Regions from separate parts of the Homo sapiens genome. Here region 1 is linked to region 2. Evidence: promoter capture Hi-C in human tissues and cell types (Jung and others, 2019). All regions are on one chromosome and are shown on one strand. The core of a region is centred on a gene start or on the middle of the fragment in contact, and the rest is flanking DNA. Distances in the headings are between cores, read along the strand shown.

The links. The method cuts DNA at HindIII sites, captures the fragments that hold promoters and counts their contacts. A contact is called where the count stands out against the background at its distance.
Region 1: a fragment that was not itself captured here is called in contact with the fragment with the promoter of ABCA2 in region 2 in 1 of the 25 tissues and cell types used here (spleen).

What each region holds. Positions count from the first base shown.
Region 1 is chr9:136,450,603-136,456,699 of GRCh38, forward strand. SEC16A (SEC16 homolog A, endoplasmic reticulum export factor) reads right to left here. Exons shown (of 32, transcript NM_014866.2): 19 at 5,451-5,564; 20 at 4,999-5,191; 21 at 3,507-3,725; 22 at 2,826-2,908; 23 at 654-806. Among named protein-coding and RNA genes, the nearest start is that of INPP5E, 14 kb to the left of the region's middle. The HindIII fragment of the contact is 5,536 bases long and covers 891-6,097 here.
Region 2 is chr9:137,023,429-137,029,508 of GRCh38, forward strand. It overlaps ABCA2 (ATP binding cassette subfamily A member 2), which reads right to left and starts at 4,809. Exons shown (of 49, transcript NM_001606.5): 1 at 4,647-4,809; 2 at 715-808; 3 at 410-412. The coding sequence starts at 4,712. LINC02908 (long intergenic non-protein coding RNA 2908) reads left to right here and starts at 4,036. Exons shown (of 3, transcript NR_171031.1): 1 at 4,036-4,483. RefSeq lists a silencer at 4,887-5,066 and an enhancer at 4,950-5,694. The HindIII fragment of the contact is 11,656 bases long and covers 4,629-6,080 here.

The sequences.
Region 1 (6,097 bases), core at 2,409-4,908, 570 kb before region 2:
CAATGAGATGTCATCAGCCCCAGCACAATGGCTAAGTTAAAGAACCGGCACTGCCCAGTATTGGTGAAGATGAGGGATATCCAGGGCCCTTGTCCTCTGCTGCAGGATGTGTGACTTGGGGCAACCAACCATTTAGGACAACTGCTCAGCAGTGTCTCCTAAAGCTGAACACACGCTCATCCTGCGAGCTAAACCCTCAGCTCCTTGGCACGCACCTAAGAAAAACAAGCGCATTCGCCAATAGATAGGCAAGGAGGCTCCTGGGGCCTGACGGATCCCAGCCCCACACTGAAAGCAGTCCCAAAGTCCACGGCTGGGAGAAAGGATCTGTGAGCCGGCAGCAGGCACACACCACAGTGACAAAGCAGCGGCTGCCGTCTGGTCCCTTGCGGGTGGGTCTGACAGGTAGTGGCCAGAGGCGACCTCTGGGGGCCGGGCTGTGTCCCCATGCTGACCTGGGTGGGCTATTATCCTATTATCTGAAGGCACAAATACACAGACACCCATCATGCCGTGTGCACTGTAGACACTCGGCTGTTTGTATCAGGAGGCTATTTGCATGTGTGGTGAATTAAGAGGATGGCGCTCTGGGAAGCGTGCCTCCTGCCCAAACCCTCCCGGCCGCCAGGCGCACCGTGGGCAGGCTGTACTACCTTCTTAGGTTCCTTCGTTTCTTTCTTGGCTGCCTGTCCGGGTCTCTTTGTTTCGGGAGCGGGTGAGAGAGACAGAGGTGGCTGCGTGGGACCCGAGTCGGCACGATCCCACCCTGGGGGGGCCTCCGAGTCTGGCACCGTCCTCGAGGGGGTCTGTCGCAAGGAAATGCAGAACAGGCTCTCCTGGGGCTCCTCACAGGAACCGAAAGAGAGAGGGGGATGCAATTCCCCAGGCGTGTTTCCTAAATACATCACTGAGAGGCCGGATGACTCTGGTGACCAGAGGGAGGCAGGAAGGGGGCTGGGGAGAGCAGCCCCCTGACTGGGCCTCCCAGAGCCTCTACCTGGCCTGACTAGAGAAGAGCCAGCCGCACTTAATAAGCAGCTCCGTCTGGGAGCACTCAGCACTCAGAATGCAAATGAGGGCGTTCGATGGAGATTCCGGGCTGGAAGAAACGGAGTGTGAGCATGCACTGAGGGAAGACTGGCCAGAGGGGGGCGATGGGTGTTCTCAAAGATACAATGATTTTTAAAAATATTTATTCCTGGGTCAAGTCCCAATTTTTAATAGCTCAACCCTCATTTTTACTTTTCCAGGGACACAGTATTTTAAAGGGTAAAACACCTAATGCAAGTTCAAACTATAGCAATCGCCTACTGATGGGATGCCCGTGAAGGGCTGGGTATCTGTAAAGAAGGTTCCAGAATGCGGTCTGTATAAAAGCAACCATCCCTCCTGGTTAGGAGTAGAGCAAACAGAGGAGGTATTTATACCAAACATGTCTAATGAGATAAATCTCACTTTCAGGAAAACCAGTGACAATGTTAGAAATTCTACTGAATTCCAGGACATCCTCTTGTGAGATCAAAAAATTAGAAAAGAAATTCTACTGTAGAAAAAGAGACGGCCGGGCTGGGCGGGGTGGCTCATGCCTGTAATCCCAGCACTTTGGGAGGCTGAGGCAGGTGGATCATGAGGTCAGGAGTTCAAGATCAGCCTGGCCAAGATGGTGAAACCCCATCTCTACTAAAAATACAAAAAAAAATGAGCTGGGTGTGGTGGTGGGCGCCTGTAGTCCCAGCTACTCAGGAGGCTGAGGCAGAGAATTGCTTAAACCTGGGAGGCAGAGGATGCAGTGAGCCAAGATCGCACCACTGCACTCCAGGCTGGGCGACAGAGAGAAACTCCATCTCAAAAAAAAAAAAAAAAAAAAAAAAAAAAAGAGATGGCCAGGTGCAGTGGTTCACACCTTAATCCCAGCACTTTGGGAGGCTGAGGCAGGCAGATCACTTGAGGTCAGGAGTTCGAGACTAGCCTGGCCAACATGGCGAAACCCTGTCTCTACCAAAAAATACAAAAAATTAGCCAGGCATGGTGGCACATGCCTGTAGTCCCAGCTACTTGGGAGGCTGAGGCTGGAGAATCACTTGAACCTGGGAGGCGGAGGTTGCAGTGGCCAAGATGGCGCCACTGCATTCCAGCCTAGGCGACAGAGCGAAACTATGTCTTAGGGAAAAAAAAAAAAAAAAAAAAAGGCCAGGCTTGGTGGATCACACCTGTAATCCCAGCACTTTGGGAGGCTGAGGCGGGTAGATCATGAGGTCAGGAGTTTAAGACCAGCCTGGCCAACATGGTGAAACCCCATCTCTACTAAAAATACAAAAACTAGCCGGGCATGGTGGCACACACCTGTAGTCCCAGCTACTTGTGAGGCTGAGGCACAGAACTGCTTGAACCCAGGAGGTGGAGGTTGCAGTGAGCCGAGATCGCACCACTGCACTCAAGCCTGGGCGACAGAGCAAGAATCTGTCTCAAAAAAAAAAAAAAGAAAAAAAAAAGAAAAAGAGATGTAGAAATCAGAGAAGGTACCCATTTTGGAAGAATTAAAATTAATAAGGGGATTTCATGATATTTGGGTATTTCTTCTACTTAAAGTAACTGTTTTTACACTACTGAATTCTCTCTTCCCCATCTTTCCCTGCCAGTGTTTTCACCAACTCTTCATATTTTAAGGATGAAAGCTATTTAGAAGCACTTTCACTTTAAGAAACAATTTTAGAAACAATTTCATAGTCCTCACTACCATCATCTTACAACTCAACAAGGAGTCTGGGTGCCCACTCGATGAACTTTATGGAAAACAAACAGTTTAAGAAAATGTGACAAAGTACCAGATTAGCAAATTTTCCATCAAAATTTTCTTCGCTTAGCTCGGAAAGTGAGTTTCCAACAGGCGCCTCCTGCGGCACTATCCCTGTCAACGGGAAAGAGAGCAACTATGATCTCAGTCACGAGAAGGCGGGACGTGTGTGTGGCGCACAGATCAACAGGCACACCACCTTCCCACCCAGCTACCGCCACACCAGCATGATCTGCAGAAACCAAGGCTGAACATCTTCCCACATGTGTGCACACTCTTTCATTTTTAAAACTAGGCCTATGTTTTGCTTTGTCCATATACACACATGTAGACATAGGCACAGACCAGGGACAAGATCCACCAAATCGAGTTCCAGACAGTTCATGACCTGCCCCTGTGCATCTCACCAGGCGTCCAGCAGGGCCGTCTAAAGACAGACCCCAGGAGACCCATGGCCACCATGCCCTGCCCCAAATGGCCATTTAAGCTTCACAACAAAAAGCCAAGTTACAAAAGGAACTGGCATTAACACTGCTGTTGTAGTGAGACTCTGAACCCATCCAGTCTGTAACTTCCAGAATTTCTGGTCTACGTTAAGACAAGTAATGTAAGTTGTTTCAAGCTCAAATAACTTCAATCTCTTCCACCAATCCCCACAAACACCACACCCCATGCTGCTTCTGCTCTCGAGACAGCATCTCTGCAGCCCCACCTGGGTCTGGGCTCCTGGCTTCCTGGAGCAAGTGTCTCCTTTCCTGCAGAGGTGGCACACCAGGTGGGAGGCCAGGCCCGGAGGGCTCCAGGAAGCCAAGTGCAGGCCCTGGGGTCACACAGCCAGGACCCGGCTCCAGGGGCCCCGGGGGCAGTGGCACTGGGAACATCGGCACTCTGGCAGGACTGGCCAATGGGCCGTCAGGGAGCGTCTGCGGAGCTGCATGGGAACGGTGGAGAAGAGGTCTGGGGTTACTGAGGGTAGCTTGAGTTACTGGAAGGAGCTGACACTCGACGTGTTTATGACAAGTTATTTTGTACAGCCCCATTTCTTTTATAAGGGAGGTCCAACAGAGCAGAAAGCCTGAAGCCACCACCCCACCGCACCATCCGTGGTTTGCAGAAAAGCAGAGTATCCGCTTCCTTTTCTAGGGGAGGGGCACTTGAGCAGTCACAGCGGCACGCGGGCTCCAGGGCCCGGCCCACACGCAAGCCCATGGCGGCCGCCTGGCACAGAGCTCTGCTAGGCCCGAGTCCCCTCCTCCACGGCCAGGGGTCACACAGGCCACTCGTTCATTCCTTCATTCTTCCGACTCAACATAAAACCTGAGAGGGCTGCTGCCTACCAGCACCATGCTGGGCCCTGGATGCTTCAACAACAAAAGAAATGCTGGGTCCTCATGGGGGTCGGGACAGATGAACTGAGTAAGAGAAAGCGCTAAGGACAGCAATCAACCAGGAAGTGGTAACGGTGTCTGAGGACGAAGCAGACTGGACATCAGGCAGGGAGGGTGGGCAGTGGGCCCAAATCAGGAGTGTGGCTGGTCCACAGCGTGGGAGTGGACATGGCACGAGGGCAGGAGGGCTCAGGGCCAAGCTTGGAGGGCCTGTGGCCACCGTGAGGACCCTGGCTTGTCCTCAGGTGAGATGGAGAGTCTGGAGGGTCTGGGGAAGAAGCAGGAGGCGAGCAGGAAGGAGCCCGTGCTCATCCAGGCATGCGGACCTGCGTGCAGGCCGCGCTGGTGAGGTTCACTGACGAAGGAAGCCGAGAAGCGCGAGAGAGGAGGGGGCATCTGGACTTGACTCCCTGGAGCTCTGGGCTGGCCCTTCCACCGACGGGGCCGACTGGGAGAAGCAGGTTACAGAGGGGCACAGCCGAGGGCGCCGCCCAGACACGGTGCGGCTGAGGCTCCCGGAGAAACAAGCAGGGAGGCTGAGCAGGCAGCGGGCGCTCAGGGCAGTGTCGCCAGCACATGGATATTTATGGACATGGAAAGCCATGAGCCTCCCCTCCATGGGCTCCTCAGGGGAGGAAGCATGAAGGGAAGAGGGAGGAGACCGAGGAGCCCCACAACCACCGAGGTGGTGTGAGACACTGCCTCCAACAGTCCACATCTGAAAGCAGTTCTCCAGGAGGCAAGGGTGCAGGCCATGGCTCAGCCCACAGGAAGCAGGGGCTTGTCTGAGGGCAGCAGCCGCGCACCTGGGCTCACCTGAGGGCAGCAGCCGCACGCTCGGGCTCGAGTGCTCAGGGCTCGGTGCAGGCACCGCCAGCAGAGGGTTGGCGATCCCCAGGGCTCCTGGCTGACTGAGTCCTGGCCTGTCCAACTGCTCCATCTCGGAACTCGGAGTGCCAGGACACTGCTGCGGGAGGGCTCCATCCTGATGCCATACTCCAGCCCCCTCCTGAGGGAGAACAAGACCTGCCCTGTGGAAGCCGCCTGTGGCCGCTCTGCAGCGCTGCCCGCCTGCCACCACCGCGCTTGCTGTGTCCCTACTTCAGGACAGGAGGCACTCAAAGCCCTTTCTGGGGAATTAGGGAATTCTCATAGGCACACGTTTGCAGTTACACTGTCTTTACAGATACATACTTTCAGTGTGGAAATGACAGGGACAGAAGCCACCTTGCCAGACGCCTCTGTGCCACCCCAAGCCAAGGCTGTACCTTAATCTGCCGCTCCACCTGCTGCAGGTGAACCAGCCACGTGGGTGCGGCCAAGGACTCCTCTTCTGGCTTCTCTTTCAGCTGGGGATCGAAGAGTCGTAACTGGGAAGCCATCTAGACACGGGCAAAAATCAAAGGCCCCTGTCACCACCGGGTGATGGCAAGTGAGCCGTCTTCAAAATGCCGGGCAATGCAGCTTCAGTGTTCACTGGCAATAAAGTTTAATTAGCTGCCTATATGTTTCTAGTATGTGCTTAGGTGACATACACAGCACATGGGACGCTGGGTGACTGGGAAGTTGCTGTAGACGACCTCTTGGCCCACGGGCACTGGGTTGGCAGTGCTAGGCACCCCCCTGGAACAGGCCTGGCCCGAGACTACCACCTGACCACGTGGACCTGACTCAGCAAAAGCTGGACTCCCCCAGGAATGTCTGCATGCTTTCATCGGGAATTTGGGGGATGCAGAGCGGGACAGAGGGGGCAGAACACAAGTTTGGCCCTGTGTTCGTAACCACTAAGGTGGGGGATGAGCACCTAAGGACGCATGCATGAATGACTCTCTGAACTTTGAAATGGGTCTAAAAATGTCCCTAATACAGTTTTTGGGTATCCCATGAGCACGTTCTCACAAATGGAACTACTGAC
Region 2 (6,080 bases), core at 3,559-6,058:
CCTCTGACCTCTGGCCAGCTGGTTAGCAGAGTGAGTGCAAGAGCCTGAAGGAGTATGAAGGGAGAGTAGCCAGGCCGCTCCAGCCCCAGCCCAGGCCAGCCCAGCCTCAGCCCAGACTCAGCCCAGAAGCCGAGGCACCCCAGCCCTAGAAGGCAAGGCCAGGCAGAGAGATGCCGCCTCAGCTTGACCCAGGCACCAGCTGTGCCTTTAGGTGGCCGGGCCTTTCACTCCCTACCACCTCCCACTTCACTGCCTGCCACCCCCCATCTGGAGCCAGCTGTTCCTGAGGCCGGCAGGGGGCCCGGGAGGGCTGTTAATGCAAGCGGGGAGGGCGCTCAAGCCAGGACGGCCCATGGGCCCCCCGCAGCTGCTGCCCAGGCCAGCCAGGAGGAGGTGGCCGCTCACTTACAGACTGCATGCCAGCCGAGGACAAGAGACCATGCGGGGAGGGAGGGGGATCAAAACAGAACAGAGGAGACCAGTGAGTGCCCACATCACCAGGAAGAGGCGTTGGCATCATCATTCGCGGCCACAGGCCAGCCCCGACCTCCACAGCCCAGCCAGGAGGCACGGCCCAGGACCACACAGGGGAGCAGGCACCGCACCTCAGGGACTCCGGGAGCAGGACACCCGTGTGCAGATGTGCACACACAGCGCAGGCGTGCGAGGTGCCGCGCTCCCCCGGCTGTGCCTGGGGCCTCCTGCCGCACTCACCTTCCTTCACGGAGATGGTGGGCTTCTTCTGTCGCAGCCCCAGCAGGATAAAGAACAGCACCAGGGGGATGAAGATCTCGAAGGCCAGGACCCACTGGAAAGGGTGGGCCCAGTGAGGGATAGGACAGACCTGTGCTCGCCTAGGCCCTCCCCAGCCTCCCATAGGGCTGGCCCAGCCCAGACAGGACCACGTGCTCCCTGGGGCCAGGGAAGGTGGGCACAGGCCCTTCGGAACCACTGAAGGTCTGAGCCCCTTCCAGGGCACTGAGGGTAAGGATTGTCTGGCTCAGCAAATCAGGTTTCCCGTCCCCAGCCCACACTGGGCCTACGTGCCCTCTGAGGAGCCTCAGGGCCTACAGGGACAAATCGGCCAGCTTGTGGTCTACTCTGACCCATGTATATCCCAGCTCATCTTCTCCCTCCCCACCTCCAGGGCTACCTGGGCAAAATCTTGGGGACCATCTGAGCCACTAGCCCCGCCTACACTTCCCACACTGCCCCGGGTTCACCTTCCTCCCACTTCCTCCCCACCAATACCGGGGCCTGGGGAGATGAGGAGGCCTGGTTGAGAGGCTTGGCCTGCGCCCAGGGCCCTGAGCCTCGGAGAAGACCTGGTAAGGGGTCTAACAGCCCCAGTCCCTGAAGCAAAGGCACCTTTTTTTTTTTTTTTTTTTGAGACGGAGTCTCACTCTGTCACCCAGGCTGGAGCACAGTGGTGCGATCTCAGCTCACTGCAAGCTCCGTCCCCCAAGTTCACACCATTCTCTTGCCTCAGCCTCTCGAGTAGCTGGGACTACAGGCGCCCGCCACCATGCCCAGCTAATTTTTTGTATTTTTAGTAGAGACGGGGTTTCACCGTGTTAGCCAGGATGGTGTCGATCTCCTGACCTCGTGATCCGCCCACCTGGGCGTGAGCCACCACACCTGGCCCAAAGGCACCTCTTTCTGCCCTGTCCCCTCTCCTGACCCGGGGCAGCCAGTCTTGGGCCTTGGAGCTCAGTTTCCCCAGGTCGGCTCCTGCTAACCCAGGCTGGGCACCAAGGTGAGCCCTAGTGGGACCTGCGTGGAGTGAGAAAGAGGTGCTTTGCTCACTTCACCTGAAAACCAAGGACTTTACCGGTTCTTGTGTCCCAGCCCCCAGCTCAGGGAGGAGGAGGAGCTTGAGCCAGCTACCCTCCAGAGAGCCCTCGGCAGACCAGCCCTCTCTGAGACCCACAGGACAGAGGGGCCCTGCCCTCCCTAGCCCGAGGGCGAGCACCCAGCTCGGAGGCATCCTTTGTCCTCATCCCCATCCCAAAACCCTTCAGAGCCCCCAGTGTGCTGTGTGGCCCGGGCCGAGTCCCCGGTCCCTGGGGTGGGGGCGGCTGCTGTGTTTACTGTGCTTGGACAATAGGGCTTTGTGGCCAGGAACATCATGCTGTGGGTGTCCCATGCCCGCCCCAGCCCGTGCCAGCCTCCACCCGCTCCCTGAGCCAGGACGGAGCCCAGGGTTCGCCAAGGCACTGTGGGCACCAACAGGCACCAGGGCGAGGGTGGCTGCAGGAGTGAGGCAATGTCAGAGGCAGGGGTCACAGCACGGGGCGCCAGCCCCGCCCACACCCGGCCTGCTATGGGCACTGTAACTGCAGCAACAGGCCCGGCTGCCTCCCCCATTGCTATAGCAACGGCCTCGCACGAGCTACTGGGAGGAGGAGGAGAGTCCTGGCTGGCAGGCGGCGGGCGCCACAGCAGCATCTGGTTACAGGCGGCAGCACAGGTCTAGCACGCCCTGGGTGCCCCACACAGGTGCCTCCAGGTGGCCCAACCTCCGTCCCTCGAGACCAGCCCAGTGCCTTCACATCGCCTGGAGGCCTAGATGCCTTCTCTGGGCATGACCCCTCCCTGTAGCTCCCGCCTACTGTGTCGGGGGGAGAACAGGTGAGACCCGAGGGTGGCGCTGCCATCTGCCATCCCAGTGACTTCATGACAGTGACCCTGTCCCTGCACCAAGAGCAGCCTGTAGCCCAAGGGTAGACCCAAGTCCAGCTAACTAAGAGGAGATAGGCCACACTCACAGACAGGGAAACTGAGGCAAAGAGCTTGGAGGAGCCTGCTAGCAGCACAGAGGTCCTTGGCACCCACCCTCCAGACCCTGAGCTCTGCCCAGGGTGGAGCTCTGCCCAGGGTGCACCCCTGCCCCAGCAGGGCGCATGGCACACAGGGCAAACCTCTGTCATCCAAGCTTGGCCCCAAGAGTCCAGCTCTGATGTCCAAGATCCTTCCCAGGAAAGTGGGGACCCAGCAGGAGTGTGCCCAGTGTCCAGCCAGCCCCAGCCCCACATCACAAGCCTGGCAAGGACTCAGCCTCCCTGGGGGAAACAGTTCCCCACCTGCTCCAGCCATGGGCTAAGGACCTCCACTGTGGCCCAGTGGGCCTCTGGGAGCCCTGTAGGGTGGGGACCCAAAAAGGTCCTGGGGGGCAGCCCAAACCAGCAGCTGGGAGTCACTCTTGCGGTCAGGACAGTGCACACCTCCCACCTGCTTGCCAGCTGCCCTCATAGGCCACACTCCCTTCCCTGAGCATTGTCCCCACTGGAACAGGGGCCACCATTCCAGCCTCTGCTCCCAAGCCCAGTGGGGACCTTCCTGACAACCACCCCCGGGGACTAATACTAATGCATGCCACATGCCACATCCCTGTTCCCTTGGCCCTGCTCTGCTGTCCCCAGTGACTCAATGCCAGGGGCTGCAGGCCTGATCCATGGGACCCCACTCAGCCAGCTCCAGGTGCCTGGCCAGGGCATGTACCTAACCCAGGCTCCCCGCCAAGGCCAGGTGCCCAGGGGAATTCTGCCAGCCATGGTGATGATGGCCACCCCAGCTGACTGCAGCCTGGGTTTCCTGCAGTGCATGTTGAAAGATAAACAGGCACGGACTGGTGCAGCCCAAGGGGTCCCGCCCGGGCCCTGGCTGGGCAAGAGGATGTCTGCCTTAGGCCCCCACCTGCTCTGAGCCCTGGCCTGGACAATCCCAAGGGCCTTCAGAAACCTAAGCTGGTCCAGGCCTGTGGCCTGGGAGGTGTCCCTTCCCTTCCCAGGCTGGAGCCAAGCTGGCCAGCTGGGGGTATGGCAGGACACCCATATCCCCAAGCCCCTCGCTCCACGAAGGACTTCTGTCCCTGACAGCCATGTGTCCTGCACCCTCAGGTCCACTGGCTGCCCAGGCAGTGCTGGGAAAGCCGGGGTTCACAGCTCCAAACAGTAGACCCAGCCCCCAGAGCAGGTGGGGGGACCAGGAGGCAACAGAGTGGATCAGGCTCGGGGAGAACTGACCCCAAAGGACAAATGGGTGCAGAGATTCAGGCTGGCCAAGGCTGGCACAAGGACATTCCCAGTGGCGAGAGCATGAGCAAGGGTCACGGATGTGCCAGGAGGGGAGGCGGAGAGATGCCTGGGACCAACCTCTATGGCAGGCCGCGGCCCAAGGGCAGGGGAGGGGTGGACGGAGGGAAGGGACAGGGTCTCCTCCGGGACCCCAGGGAGGCTGGGCCCAAGGACCATGGAGCCTCGCAGCTGAATGGAGCCCCCCAGGCCTGCCTTCTGTCCTGGGAACCAGGGCCTCCCTCGAGCCAGAGTCCTGAGCGCCGCTTGCCCCCCGCCCACAGCGGCCCCAGCGAGCGCGCTGCAGAGGGCGCGGGTGCCGTGACTCAGCCGAGCACCGCGATGTCAGCGGACGCGGGACCGGACTGGACACGACCGAGCCACCTCCCCGGAGGCCGCAGCGCCGGCAGGCGAGGGCAGGGCCCGGCGGGGAGGGGGCTCGGGCCCGCGCCGCCCCCAGCGCCCGCCGGGGTCTGCGCGCGCCCGGCCGTCCGCACGTGCGCGCGGGGAGCGCGCCTCTGGCCGCGGTGCGCGCGGCCTCGGGCTGAGGGCGGGCGCGTGGGGTGGGCTCACCGGGCTCCGGCGTTTGAGCGTCACGTTCTTCCAGAGCAGCAGCTGCAGCTGGTGCAGGAAGCCCATGGCGGGGCCACGCTCCGCCGCCTCAGCGCCGCGGCCCGCTCCTCTGCGCGCCCCGCCGGGCCCCGCAGCCCGCCGCGCCGCTGGGCATCGCCCGCGCGGGGGCGGGGCGCTCGGGCGTCCGGGACCCGATCCGCGCTGGCTCCGCCCCGGCGGCCGCGGCGACAGCGACTCTGCCCGCGCCCCGCCCGCCCCCGCTTAAAGGCGCCGCGCTCCGTCCGCGCCCGCCAGGAGGCGCCCGCCGCCCGCGCCGCGCCCGGGACCGACCCGGGCCCGAGACCCTGCGCGCGCCGCCGCCGGGAAGCCTCCGGGCCGCCCCTCGCCGGGCGTCACGCGACGCGCCCACATCGAATCCGAGACCCCGGCTTAGCCTTCGTAGGCCGGGGGACCCTCGGGCGCTGCGCTCTTCTCCCAGAGGCATCCGGCTGCGCCCACCGCGCTGGCGACTCTGCAGAGGCGCCCCAAGCCTTCACTGTCCCCGGGGCGCGCCGAGCGGACGCTGGCGAGGGGCCAGCTCACCCCCGTAAGGGTCTCCTGTGTGCTTTGTAAACCAGCACTTGGAGTCCAGGTGGTGCCCACCTGGAAGGGAGGCAGGGCGGCCAGGTGGGTCCGTCCCGCGATTCCGAGCAGCCAGCGGAAGGGGGGAAACTCGAGGCCCCAGGAACGCTCGCCGTGAGCGGAGCAGGCAGGGGACCGAGGCGGCCCCTGCTGCACGCGGCTCGTTTTTCTCCCCATATTCGGGCGAGTCTGGTCTCTGCACAGGGAGTTCGGGATCAGGCGGTTCTGCGGCTGTGGCTTGGCACCTGCTGGGGCGCCCCGGGAGGTGGGGCAGTTCCTCCGCGTGGCCTGTAGAGAGCGACAGAGGACAGGCTGACCCCATGGGTGGCTCTGACGGCGCTTCCCAGACTCAGTTTCCCCCCTGTGAATGGGGTGGAGTAGCGCTGTGTGGTGTCCAGTGTCAGGGCGCACATAGAAGGCGCATCCTCAAGTGAATGAAGACCTCCGAGGCCACAGCTCCCCACTCCTCCCAGCTCCTTTGCAGCAGGAAGGTGACCCTGGGCTAGTGAGTGAGGGATCAGCTTCCCACCCCAGCCCGCAGCCTCAAGGCACTTGCTTTTCTCTGCTCAGTCCACAGGGCTGGGTCAGGGCAGGAAGCTACCAGCAGGTCTTTCCCACAAGCCACAGCCATGGGTGAGGGGGGCTTCCTGCCCTCAACCTGCCCACCCCTACCTGGGGTAGGGACAAGCCCTGTGCCCCAGCCCCGGGGGCTTAGCCTGTTGGGGCCCTGGTCAGCACCACCCGTGGGTTGGCCTCTCTCCTCCTCGCCCCACTCTCCACCGTCCACTACAGGGGCTCCCTGGCTGCAGCCGC